Linked DNA regions of Homo sapiens: all the other regions are linked to region 3. The links are contacts of gene promoters, found by promoter capture Hi-C in human tissues and cell types (Jung and others, 2019). All regions are on one chromosome and are shown on one strand. The core of a region is centred on a gene start or on the middle of the fragment in contact, and the rest is flanking DNA. Distances in the headings are between cores, read along the strand shown. Region 1 holds the start of PRKAG1 (protein kinase AMP-activated non-catalytic subunit gamma 1). Region 2 holds the start of NCKAP5L (NCK associated protein 5 like). Region 3 overlaps SPATS2 (spermatogenesis associated serine rich 2).

Region 1 (2,824 bases), core at 254-2,753, 350 kb after region 3:
CTGTGACTGCTGTAAGATGGGGGTATAGAGGCTGGGCAATTCCCACCCCCTGTTGTATAGTTGGACTATGTTATAACGCACAAAAGAGAGCTGACCCCAGGGGGAGCCAGAGGGTGATGGGTTCCTTGCCTCCCTTTCCTTCCCCTTTCTGCCCAAGCTTGTGCTGCAGTTGAACCTCTTCCTGGGGGTGGGAGTAGGTAAGGGGTGGGTGAGGCCCCAAACCCCTCTCTGGTAGGGAACCGTGGGGATGAAGATGAAGCTTATATGCAGTTCTCTTCTAGGGGCTGTGGGCAAAGGGCATTTTGTAATTAATATTTTCAAGAATCAGATGTCTGGAGTGTAGGGGTGGGCTTGGTGGTGGTGGACGGGCGGGCCTGCTGGAGGGGGAGCTTGGTCGCTGTTGTGATTTTAGGTTTGTTTTTGTTTTGTTTTGAATTTGGGGGGTTGTGGATTGTTGGGGGTAGGGAGATTTTTTTTTTTTAAAGCTGCTTCCTCAACTGTTTCAAGCTGCAAATGTTTAAGAGAATAACAGCCCCCACTCCCACAGGAACCGCTGTAATTAAATCAGACAGTAGGAAGACTGGGCTGCTGCCCTCAAAGCCACAGCCCTTGGATGTTCCTTTTCCGAGAGCAGAAGGTCTAGGCTACAGGGAGGGGGAGATTGGCTCCCGTGAGTCAGGCTGTGTTTGGGGCTTGGGCCCTGGGATTGGGAAAAGGGGATGGGGCAGACTTTGTAAGCATATGCTAGGTATCCGATAGTCCTGTAGAATTTAGTGAAGAAACCTTATACAGTTTTTAATTTTTATATAAACTATAACTCAGACCCAAGCTACAAGGTTGGAATTTTGGTTGGTTTTTTTTTTAAGTACCCTGCCTGTATAATTGCATCAGAATCCCCCACCCCACCCCCCGCCCCCGTGTTTGTATTTTGGGTTGGTTTACACTCGCACATACTCAGTTTTCAGTTTTCCCCTTTACAGTCTTCTCCCCTCACCTCCAGGACCCTCCCCCTTTTTAAAAAATAAATCGCTGACAAGTGTGAATCCCGTGAAGACTTTATTTTGTGTTGTGTGTATCCTGTACAGCAAGGTTGGTCCTTCGTAACAACGGATGAAATGGTTCCCTTTTTTAAAGCGCCCTCTCTCCCTCCACCCTCAGCGCCCCTGTCCTTGGCATGTTTTGTATCAGCGATCATTCTGAACTGTACATATTTATGTTGCGAGAGGCAAAGGGCAAGTTTTGGATTTTGCTTCTTCCAAGTTTGTTTTTAAACGACAAATAAAAAAAGAACATTTTAAATACAAGCGGCTCCGTCCCATGACCCTCGCCGTCAGCCGGATCCGTGCGGTCCGCGAGGACCCGGGGGAGGGCGGTTACCGAGGCCCGCCACCGCCGGAAGGGTGGGTTCCTTGCCTTCCGCCCCAGTCTGGCGACTGCCATGACGTGGGCGGAAGTGGCGTCGCCGCACCGGATGTGGGGCGGGGCCTGCCCCAAGAGAGTTTCCTAAAGCGAGGAAACCAAGCCGGGCGCCTCTTGCAATGGAGACGGTGAGGAGTGCAGGAGGGCGGTCGGGGGCGCTGTGGAGCCTAAGACACCCCCCCAACCCTTAGGAGACCGGGAGGGCCGGGCAGGGGCTGGCGCTGGTGTCTAGCAAACAAAAAGCAGCCGGGTGTCTGCCCTATCCCGTGACCCTGTTCCTCCGCTTCTTCGTTGGGCGCATCTCCTGGAACTGGGCCGCGTCCCCGCCGCCTTTCCGTACGCGGTACCCTTAGCCCAAGCAGGCAGTGACTCCTGGCTCCCTCCTTGGGGCCCACGTATGCCGTGGCAATCTCGGGCCTCCTTTCCTATTGGCACCTCAAGCCCTTTTAGAGGTTTGAGAGCGCAGGGTTGTGAGCCGGCTTTGCTGGGTGAGGCACGGGGCGTCCAGAGGGATCTCCGCTTGCAGGTAGCTCCTGGACCTCGATGGTCTTTCTGTGATCCCTGCAATCCCCGGCAGGAGGACATCTGAAGATCTTTATACTGCGTCCAGTGAAGTCACATTCCCTTAATAAGACCGAGAATTGAGGTTTGCTTGAAAGAGGAAATCTTGCAGTGTTAGAGGCCGATGTGTCCCTGGACAATTTTAGGTCATGGCCCGCTCTGCGACTCTAAGCAGGGGTTTTGGCATAGCTCATTCTTGGCGAGCAGGCATTGACCAATTGTGGCAGGGCCCTGTCACCCTCCCACAGATGCTGCGGGTTGCCTGCTACATGTTTGCACCCACCCTCACTCTCAGGAGTCTTTTTCTAGCGCTCTGTAACCCCTCCCATACACTTCCCTCTCCACAGTTTTTAACCATGTGTCTTCTTTCAGGCAGAGTAACTCTTTCCATCTTGGTTTTTATCATCTGCTACTGTAGTTACGAAAGGACTGCAGGTTCACTTTGCTTTGGATTACATGCCCAGAGTAATTCTTTGCCACACCGTTTCTCTGCTCACAGAGAGGTTGTTTCTTTCAGGTTTTCAAAAAGAAAACCGACCAAAGTACTAAAATGATTCGCAGTTGGTCTCCCAGGCAAGGGAGCCAATTCTGACTAATCAGGATAATCTTAAACAAAAATAAGGAGTCTAATTCCATTAAATTTAAAATGACATGTCATATTCTACTTACTTGTAAATGTATTATGGTTTACAAAGCATTTTTATATAGATTTTCTAATTTAGCCTTTACACTTTATGTACTGGATTAGGCTCTGGGGTAGAAGTTAAAAAGAGGAAAAAGAAAACTCAGCCAGGTGTGGTGGCTCACGCCTGTAATGCCAGTACTTTGGGAGGCCAAGGCAAGT
Region 2 (2,700 bases), core at 60-2,559, 460 kb before region 3:
TAGCTGTCCTTGGGCACTCTTTTCATCAAACTACCTCTATGCTCAAGAACCCAAAATGACTTCTTTATCTTATGTCTTGTCACATCCATATCCTTATTCTGCTCTCCTCCATAAGAAACCTCCTCCATTAATTTCTCCCACTTCCCAACGTACCACGGTGATCTGCTCACGGTCCCACGCAGATAATTTGCTCTTTCCTATCTGAATCTCCTTGTGGCCTTTACCCTGCCTGGACCCTACTCAAGCTCTCTCTGCCCTTCAAATTCCGTATTTAAATAAACCTCCTTCAGAAAAGAACTCTTAATCCTAGCCAATCTGAGCACCCTAACTTGCCTTACTTTTTATGTTCCTTTATTGGACTAATATGATACTCTAAGCTGCATCCTTTGTATACTCGCAACAAAAGAAATTTTAATGAAGTAGGCGGAGACTGTACCTAGGGATTCCTTCGTATTTCCCTGCAGAACCCAGGTGAGAACCTACATTTCTGGGGCAGTCACTACAATGCAGGCTGTGAGGGTTATACGGTATTTAGGCAAGGGCAAATAGGTGTTTAATTAAGGACTAATGGGAATGATATTGAAGCTCTGAGGCTCTGCAGGGGCCTGGATGGGCTGTTTGCTTTTCCTCATCCTCACCGAGATAGCAAGTGGTTGAGAACAAGGTTGCATCCTTTTTCTGCCCAGCCTTCCCCGCAAACCAGTGAGGAAACGACCAGCACTGCCGTCTGATGAGAGGAGCCTGTTGCTGTAACTGTTTTCCAGATTACTGGGGGGACGACCCCATCCTGGAGAAGGAAGAGAGAGGCGGGAGCATTTAAGGCCAAAGAGGCACTCAAGCCTTTCCCCCATGGATTTACACCCAACACGTATGCAGAAAAGCAAATTACAAACACCGACGCTCACAACCACACATACACGTGCACGCCCAGCCCCACAGAAGCAAACGCGCATGCCTGTGGGCCCGCGCGCACCTACTTAGTTTTCTCTGTTCTAGACGCCCTCATTCCACCCCCGCTCGGCCCAGCCCGGCGTCCTCTACCCAGGCACGGCTGAGGTTTACCAAGCCCGGCCCGGCCTGGAGAAAGTGTTTCTATAAGGGGGAAGGGAGGTCCTTCCCACCAAAGCGGAAGCGGCGCGCGCCGGCCGGGCAGACTTAGCTCGCGTCCTGGGAACATCTGGAGGGGGCTGGGAGGGGCGCGCATCCAGGCTGAACGTGGATTGGCTGCTAGGGAGGAGGGAGGCGGGGTCAGGGCCAGGGGCGGGGCTCCCCGGCCCCTTTAAAGCCTTGACATCAGGAGGCGGCTCCGGCACCCCCCTTTCTCTGCCCCCCGCCCCCAAGCCGCGGCCATGGACCTGGCGGATCCGGCCTGCCCTGGCCCAGCTCAACACCTGATTTCGGTGAGTTCTGGGTCTACTTGGGATTGAAAGGGCGGCGAGTGCGGGGGGGCGATCTGTAGCTCCGGGCCGGGGGGAGTGGGGTGTGGAGGGTAAGGCTCTCGTGGCAGTACAGAGTCGGAGAGGGCGTCGCGGCTTCCTGCCCAAACCCTGCTGCCCGCCCCTCCGTCCCTCCCTCCAGCCGCACCCTCCTCGGGGGTCCGGCTGCGACTCTGTGCACCCCCACCCCACCCCCTCCCGCCCCCCGCGCCATCCTCGCGCACACTCCGTGGCCCCGGAAGGGAAACTTTCGGGAGTGGGGGATGTTCCGGGGGCCGGGCTCCCCTCCCTCTTTGAAAGCACTGACCTTGCCCCAGCTGCTCACCCCACCCAACCCGCATCCCACCGTCCGGGTGCCGCTTAGCGGTGCCGGGTTATTGCGGGGGGAGGGGCTCTCTCCCCAAAGCGCAGGCGCGGAGACGAGCCTGGGGCTCCCTTTCGCACTCCTTCCCATTCCCCGTGGCCTGGGGCGGTAGGGCCTGGGGAAGGCGGGGAGAGGCGGAAAGACCGGGTCTCCTAGAGAACAGCCCCTTCAAAGGCTTTGAGGGGCTGCGGGAAGGAGGAAGGACCTGGTGGGCTGCACGCTGAAGAGAAGCTAAGGGAGGGAGAAGGGTTGGTTGGGCAGGGAGCAGGGACAGGGCAGCGTCTGCAGAAAAGGCCCTCTGGGTGCTGGCTGCGGTGCCAGAAGAATGCAGAGAATTCATCTGTGCCCGACGCTTCCCTGGCTTAGCCCAACTAAGAAAGCGGCTGCCCGGATCCTAGCTCCCCTCTCCCTGTCCTGGGCCCAAGGTCCCGCGTTATCTCCAGTCCTGGCACGGCCCCAAGGGCACAGAGGGCCCTCACCTCCCACAGGCCTGGTTTTCCAGGCATCCCAGGGCTGGATCAGCTGAGTCCACTTAGTCTGTCCAGCTGCTACTTCTTAAAGGCCTGCCTTGCTGAGGAGCTGGGGGTCTTGGGCTAAGGAGTTCTCTGGCTGTAGAGGCAATCCCTCCCTCCCACTTCTCCGCGTCTGTCATGGGTCCTCCTTCTTAAGCACAATGGTCAGCCAGAGGAAGTGGCCCGGGCAGGGGTGGCCTGGGGAGCAGTAGAAAGAGTGTCAATGCCTTACCGTTTTGTGGTCAGTACTTTCGGGGAAAATGAACATAGCCCATTTGCCTTGTTGCAGACCCTCCCTTGCAGACATTACGCCATCTGGCTCTCTGAGACTCCTTGTGTGATAGGAAAATTCACTTCTCAAATTGGTCCCCCCATCTTCCTAAAAACA
Region 3 (2,700 bases), core at 55-2,554:
AAGTGGAAGAGTCTGTAACAGGCAAGCTTCACTGTCATCCTCCAGAGTCTAGATGACTTCGTTGAAAGTGAAGATCCCAGAAAAGAAGGGATGGACATGCTATTTTCATGTTGCTGCAGATATACACTAAGCAACTGAGGAAGCTGAATTATATTCTACAGGTCATTTGGTAATATAATGAATGGACTGTACTTCCTAACAATTACATCCAAAAAATACAAGCTTTTCCTTCCAGTTTCCAATGAAAGCAGCAAGACTGAAATAATCAGTTACACACATGAGAAGCCAGGTATATCTGAAAGAGTGACTTTTAGTTCCCAGTTTTAATATGGTGACCCTACAATGGGAAACTGAAAGCAGCAATTTTTAGAATAGTATACACAAATTTTCTTCACTGCCATTATAAAGTGACTTTGTGTAAGTTACTTTTAGCCCTTCTGAGCCTCATCTGAAAAATAAGGATAATACTTACAACTAACAGATAAGGTAATAATGTACACTGAGTTCAGCGCCTGGAATACATAAATGCTCAACAAACGAAAATTCCCTCCTGTCTTAGCCTGATCGGCCTCCAGGGGCTATGCTCATGTTTTGGCCATAACCTGTGGCTCCTCCCTCAGGCCCCAGCTGTTTCCCTCAGTTCTAGTTGTTTCACTCCTGGTTTCTAAAAGGATCCTATCTATATTTAGAGGTAATGCTAGTACCAATTGTGGGCTCAAGGGCACCTGAGTACTGAGCAGTTTTCAATTGTTTTCCAGAGTTAATTGGTTTGGCTCCACAACTGGCTGTCTTGACTTCTACAAGTAAGAGTGCCACGTATGCACAGTACCTCAGCAGTATAAGACTAAACAGAAAACTAAGTGTGGTCGCAGGACAAATCCTAAGCAAAAAGATGTTTTTAGCCCTATTTATCAGGATCCCAGACCTTTGTTAAATCACAGGAGCAGTAAACCTTCAATGAACTCCACAGAGTAGGCTACAGCCTACTAACTTAATCTTCATCTAAATCACAGTTATCAGACCCAAGTTTCAACCAGTTCATGCTGCTTTACTATAACCAAGATGAGGGTGAAGCAGAAAGAGCAAACAGGTAGTGAAGATTTTAAAAAAGGCATCCGATACAGCTAGGTCTGAATAAAGCTTTGTTATTTACTAGCTCTGTGACCTTAGTAAATTATTTAACCTCTTAATTTACAAAATATGAAATAATTGTGAGGATTGAATGAGATAATACATACAAAAAAATCTTAGCACCTTGGCTAGCCCACTGAAAGAGGTCAATTAAAAAAGAGGCACATTAGGCTGCGGTGGCTCACGCCTGTAATCCCAACACTTTGGGAGGCCAAGTCAGATGGATCAAGAGGTCAAGAGTTCGAGACCAGCCTGGCCAAGATGGTGAAACCCCCGTCTCTACTAAAAATACAAAAATTAGCCAGGCGTGCTGGCGGGCACCTGTAATTCCAGCTACTTGGGAGGCTGGGGTCGCTTGAACCCGGGAGATGGAGGTTGCAGTGAGCCGAGATCACGCCACTGCACTCTAGCCTGGGCAACAGAGCAAGACTCCATCTCAAAAAAAAAAAAAAAAAAAAAAAGAGGCACATTGTCACTAATGAGAACACTGCACTCATTTCTTGCTTTGTTCAATTTTCATAACATCTAAGAAAAGTAACAATTTAAATCATTATTTTTGGACCTTTGTAAAGTAACCTAAATGCTACCATCCAAGACCTAGCTGAGAAATACAAACTGATTAATGTCCATAAATCTTAGATGAGTCAGCAAAACTTAATGCCCAACAAATAAAAGGCTTAACATGGACTACTTAGGAGCACACAATGGTCATTACAATTTCAAAATCGGCAATTTTCTATCTAGTACAATCACAAATTTGGTCTGGAAATCCAAATATTAAGGAAATGCAAACATCATAATCAATATTCCCAAATCACCTTAATTGAAACTGGAAGGTATGAGGCAGCCTATTTGAAGTTAACATCAAGAAATAATTTAAGGCAGAACCCCAACTCTCTCCCACAAACACAAAACCAGTAGCAGATGGCACAAGAACATTTCTCAGTGAGAAATTGCAATTCTAACAAAGTACAGGTAACTTAATTTTATCCATCACCTTTTGGTCAAACTGAAAACAAACAACCAAGCTTTTGGTTCTCTCCAAAACACTGAAATCTGCATTATCACTGACCTAACTTAAAGCAAGATATTTTTGGTGATCTGTCCTCTCCTGCTTCATTAACCGTAGGTAAATTAGGAACAGTAGCCTGCTAAACAGAGGGGAAGTAAATATCACAGGCATGTTTTATCAATAAAATGGACAAGCGATAATCAAATTATTTAAAGAACGGCTTGTACTCCTTAACAGAGGGACAAGCTTGAGAAAGATCCACTTTCTAAAAGAACCTAATCATTCTGGATGAATTATGAGAAAAATATCACTGTAGTCCAAAACTGACTGAATCTACCTTTCTGCTTTAATCCAAGTCCTAACCACATCTATTTTATGTCTCTGCGTCTGTTCGCCTGATTTTCCATTTCGTCTCCCCCTTCAATTCCAAGAACGCCCTTCTCTCCCTTATTTTCAAATCTCATTATTGCCCCCGAATGCTAAGGACCTCGCACAGCCACGGAGGTGACCTTACGCATCCCTACTGCATTCCTAATTCATTGTACTTCTCATCCCAA

What was found. Contacts are between HindIII fragments. The study calls those that stand out against the background at their distance.
Region 1: the fragment with the promoter of PRKAG1 here is called in contact with a fragment that was not itself captured in region 3 in 1 of the 25 tissues and cell types used here (dorsolateral prefrontal cortex).
Region 2: the fragment with the promoter of NCKAP5L here is called in contact with a fragment that was not itself captured in region 3 in 1 of the 25 tissues and cell types used here (dorsolateral prefrontal cortex).

Annotation. Positions count from the first base shown.
Region 1 is chr12:49,017,455-49,020,278 of GRCh38, reverse strand. It overlaps PRKAG1 (protein kinase AMP-activated non-catalytic subunit gamma 1), which reads left to right and starts at 1,503. Exons shown (of 12, transcript NM_002733.5): 1 at 1,503-1,547. The coding sequence starts at 1,539. It overlaps KMT2D (lysine methyltransferase 2D), which reads left to right. Exons shown (of 55, transcript NM_003482.4): 55 at 1-1,301. DDN-AS1 (DDN and PRKAG1 antisense RNA 1) reads right to left here. Exons shown (of 2, transcript NR_147179.1): 2 at 1,039-2,043. RefSeq lists enhancers at 1,100-1,299, 1,872-2,462. The HindIII fragment of the contact is 13,264 bases long and covers 1-2,824 here.
Region 2 is chr12:49,827,022-49,829,721 of GRCh38, reverse strand. It overlaps NCKAP5L (NCK associated protein 5 like), which reads left to right and starts at 1,309. Exons shown (of 13, transcript NM_001037806.4): 1 at 1,309-1,400. BCDIN3D-AS1 (BCDIN3D antisense RNA 1) reads right to left here and starts at 1,179. Exons shown (of 3, transcript NR_027501.1): 1 at 978-1,179; 2 at 639-787. RefSeq lists enhancers at 278-856, 857-1,435, 1,851-1,900 and a silencer at 1,181-1,590. The HindIII fragment of the contact is 7,341 bases long and covers 1-2,700 here.
Region 3 is chr12:49,367,923-49,370,622 of GRCh38, reverse strand. The region is part of intron 1 of SPATS2 (spermatogenesis associated serine rich 2); the gene reads right to left. Among named protein-coding and RNA genes, the nearest start is that of SPATS2, 1.8 kb to the right of the region's middle. RefSeq lists an enhancer at 646-785. The HindIII fragment of the contact is 3,639 bases long and covers 1-2,700 here.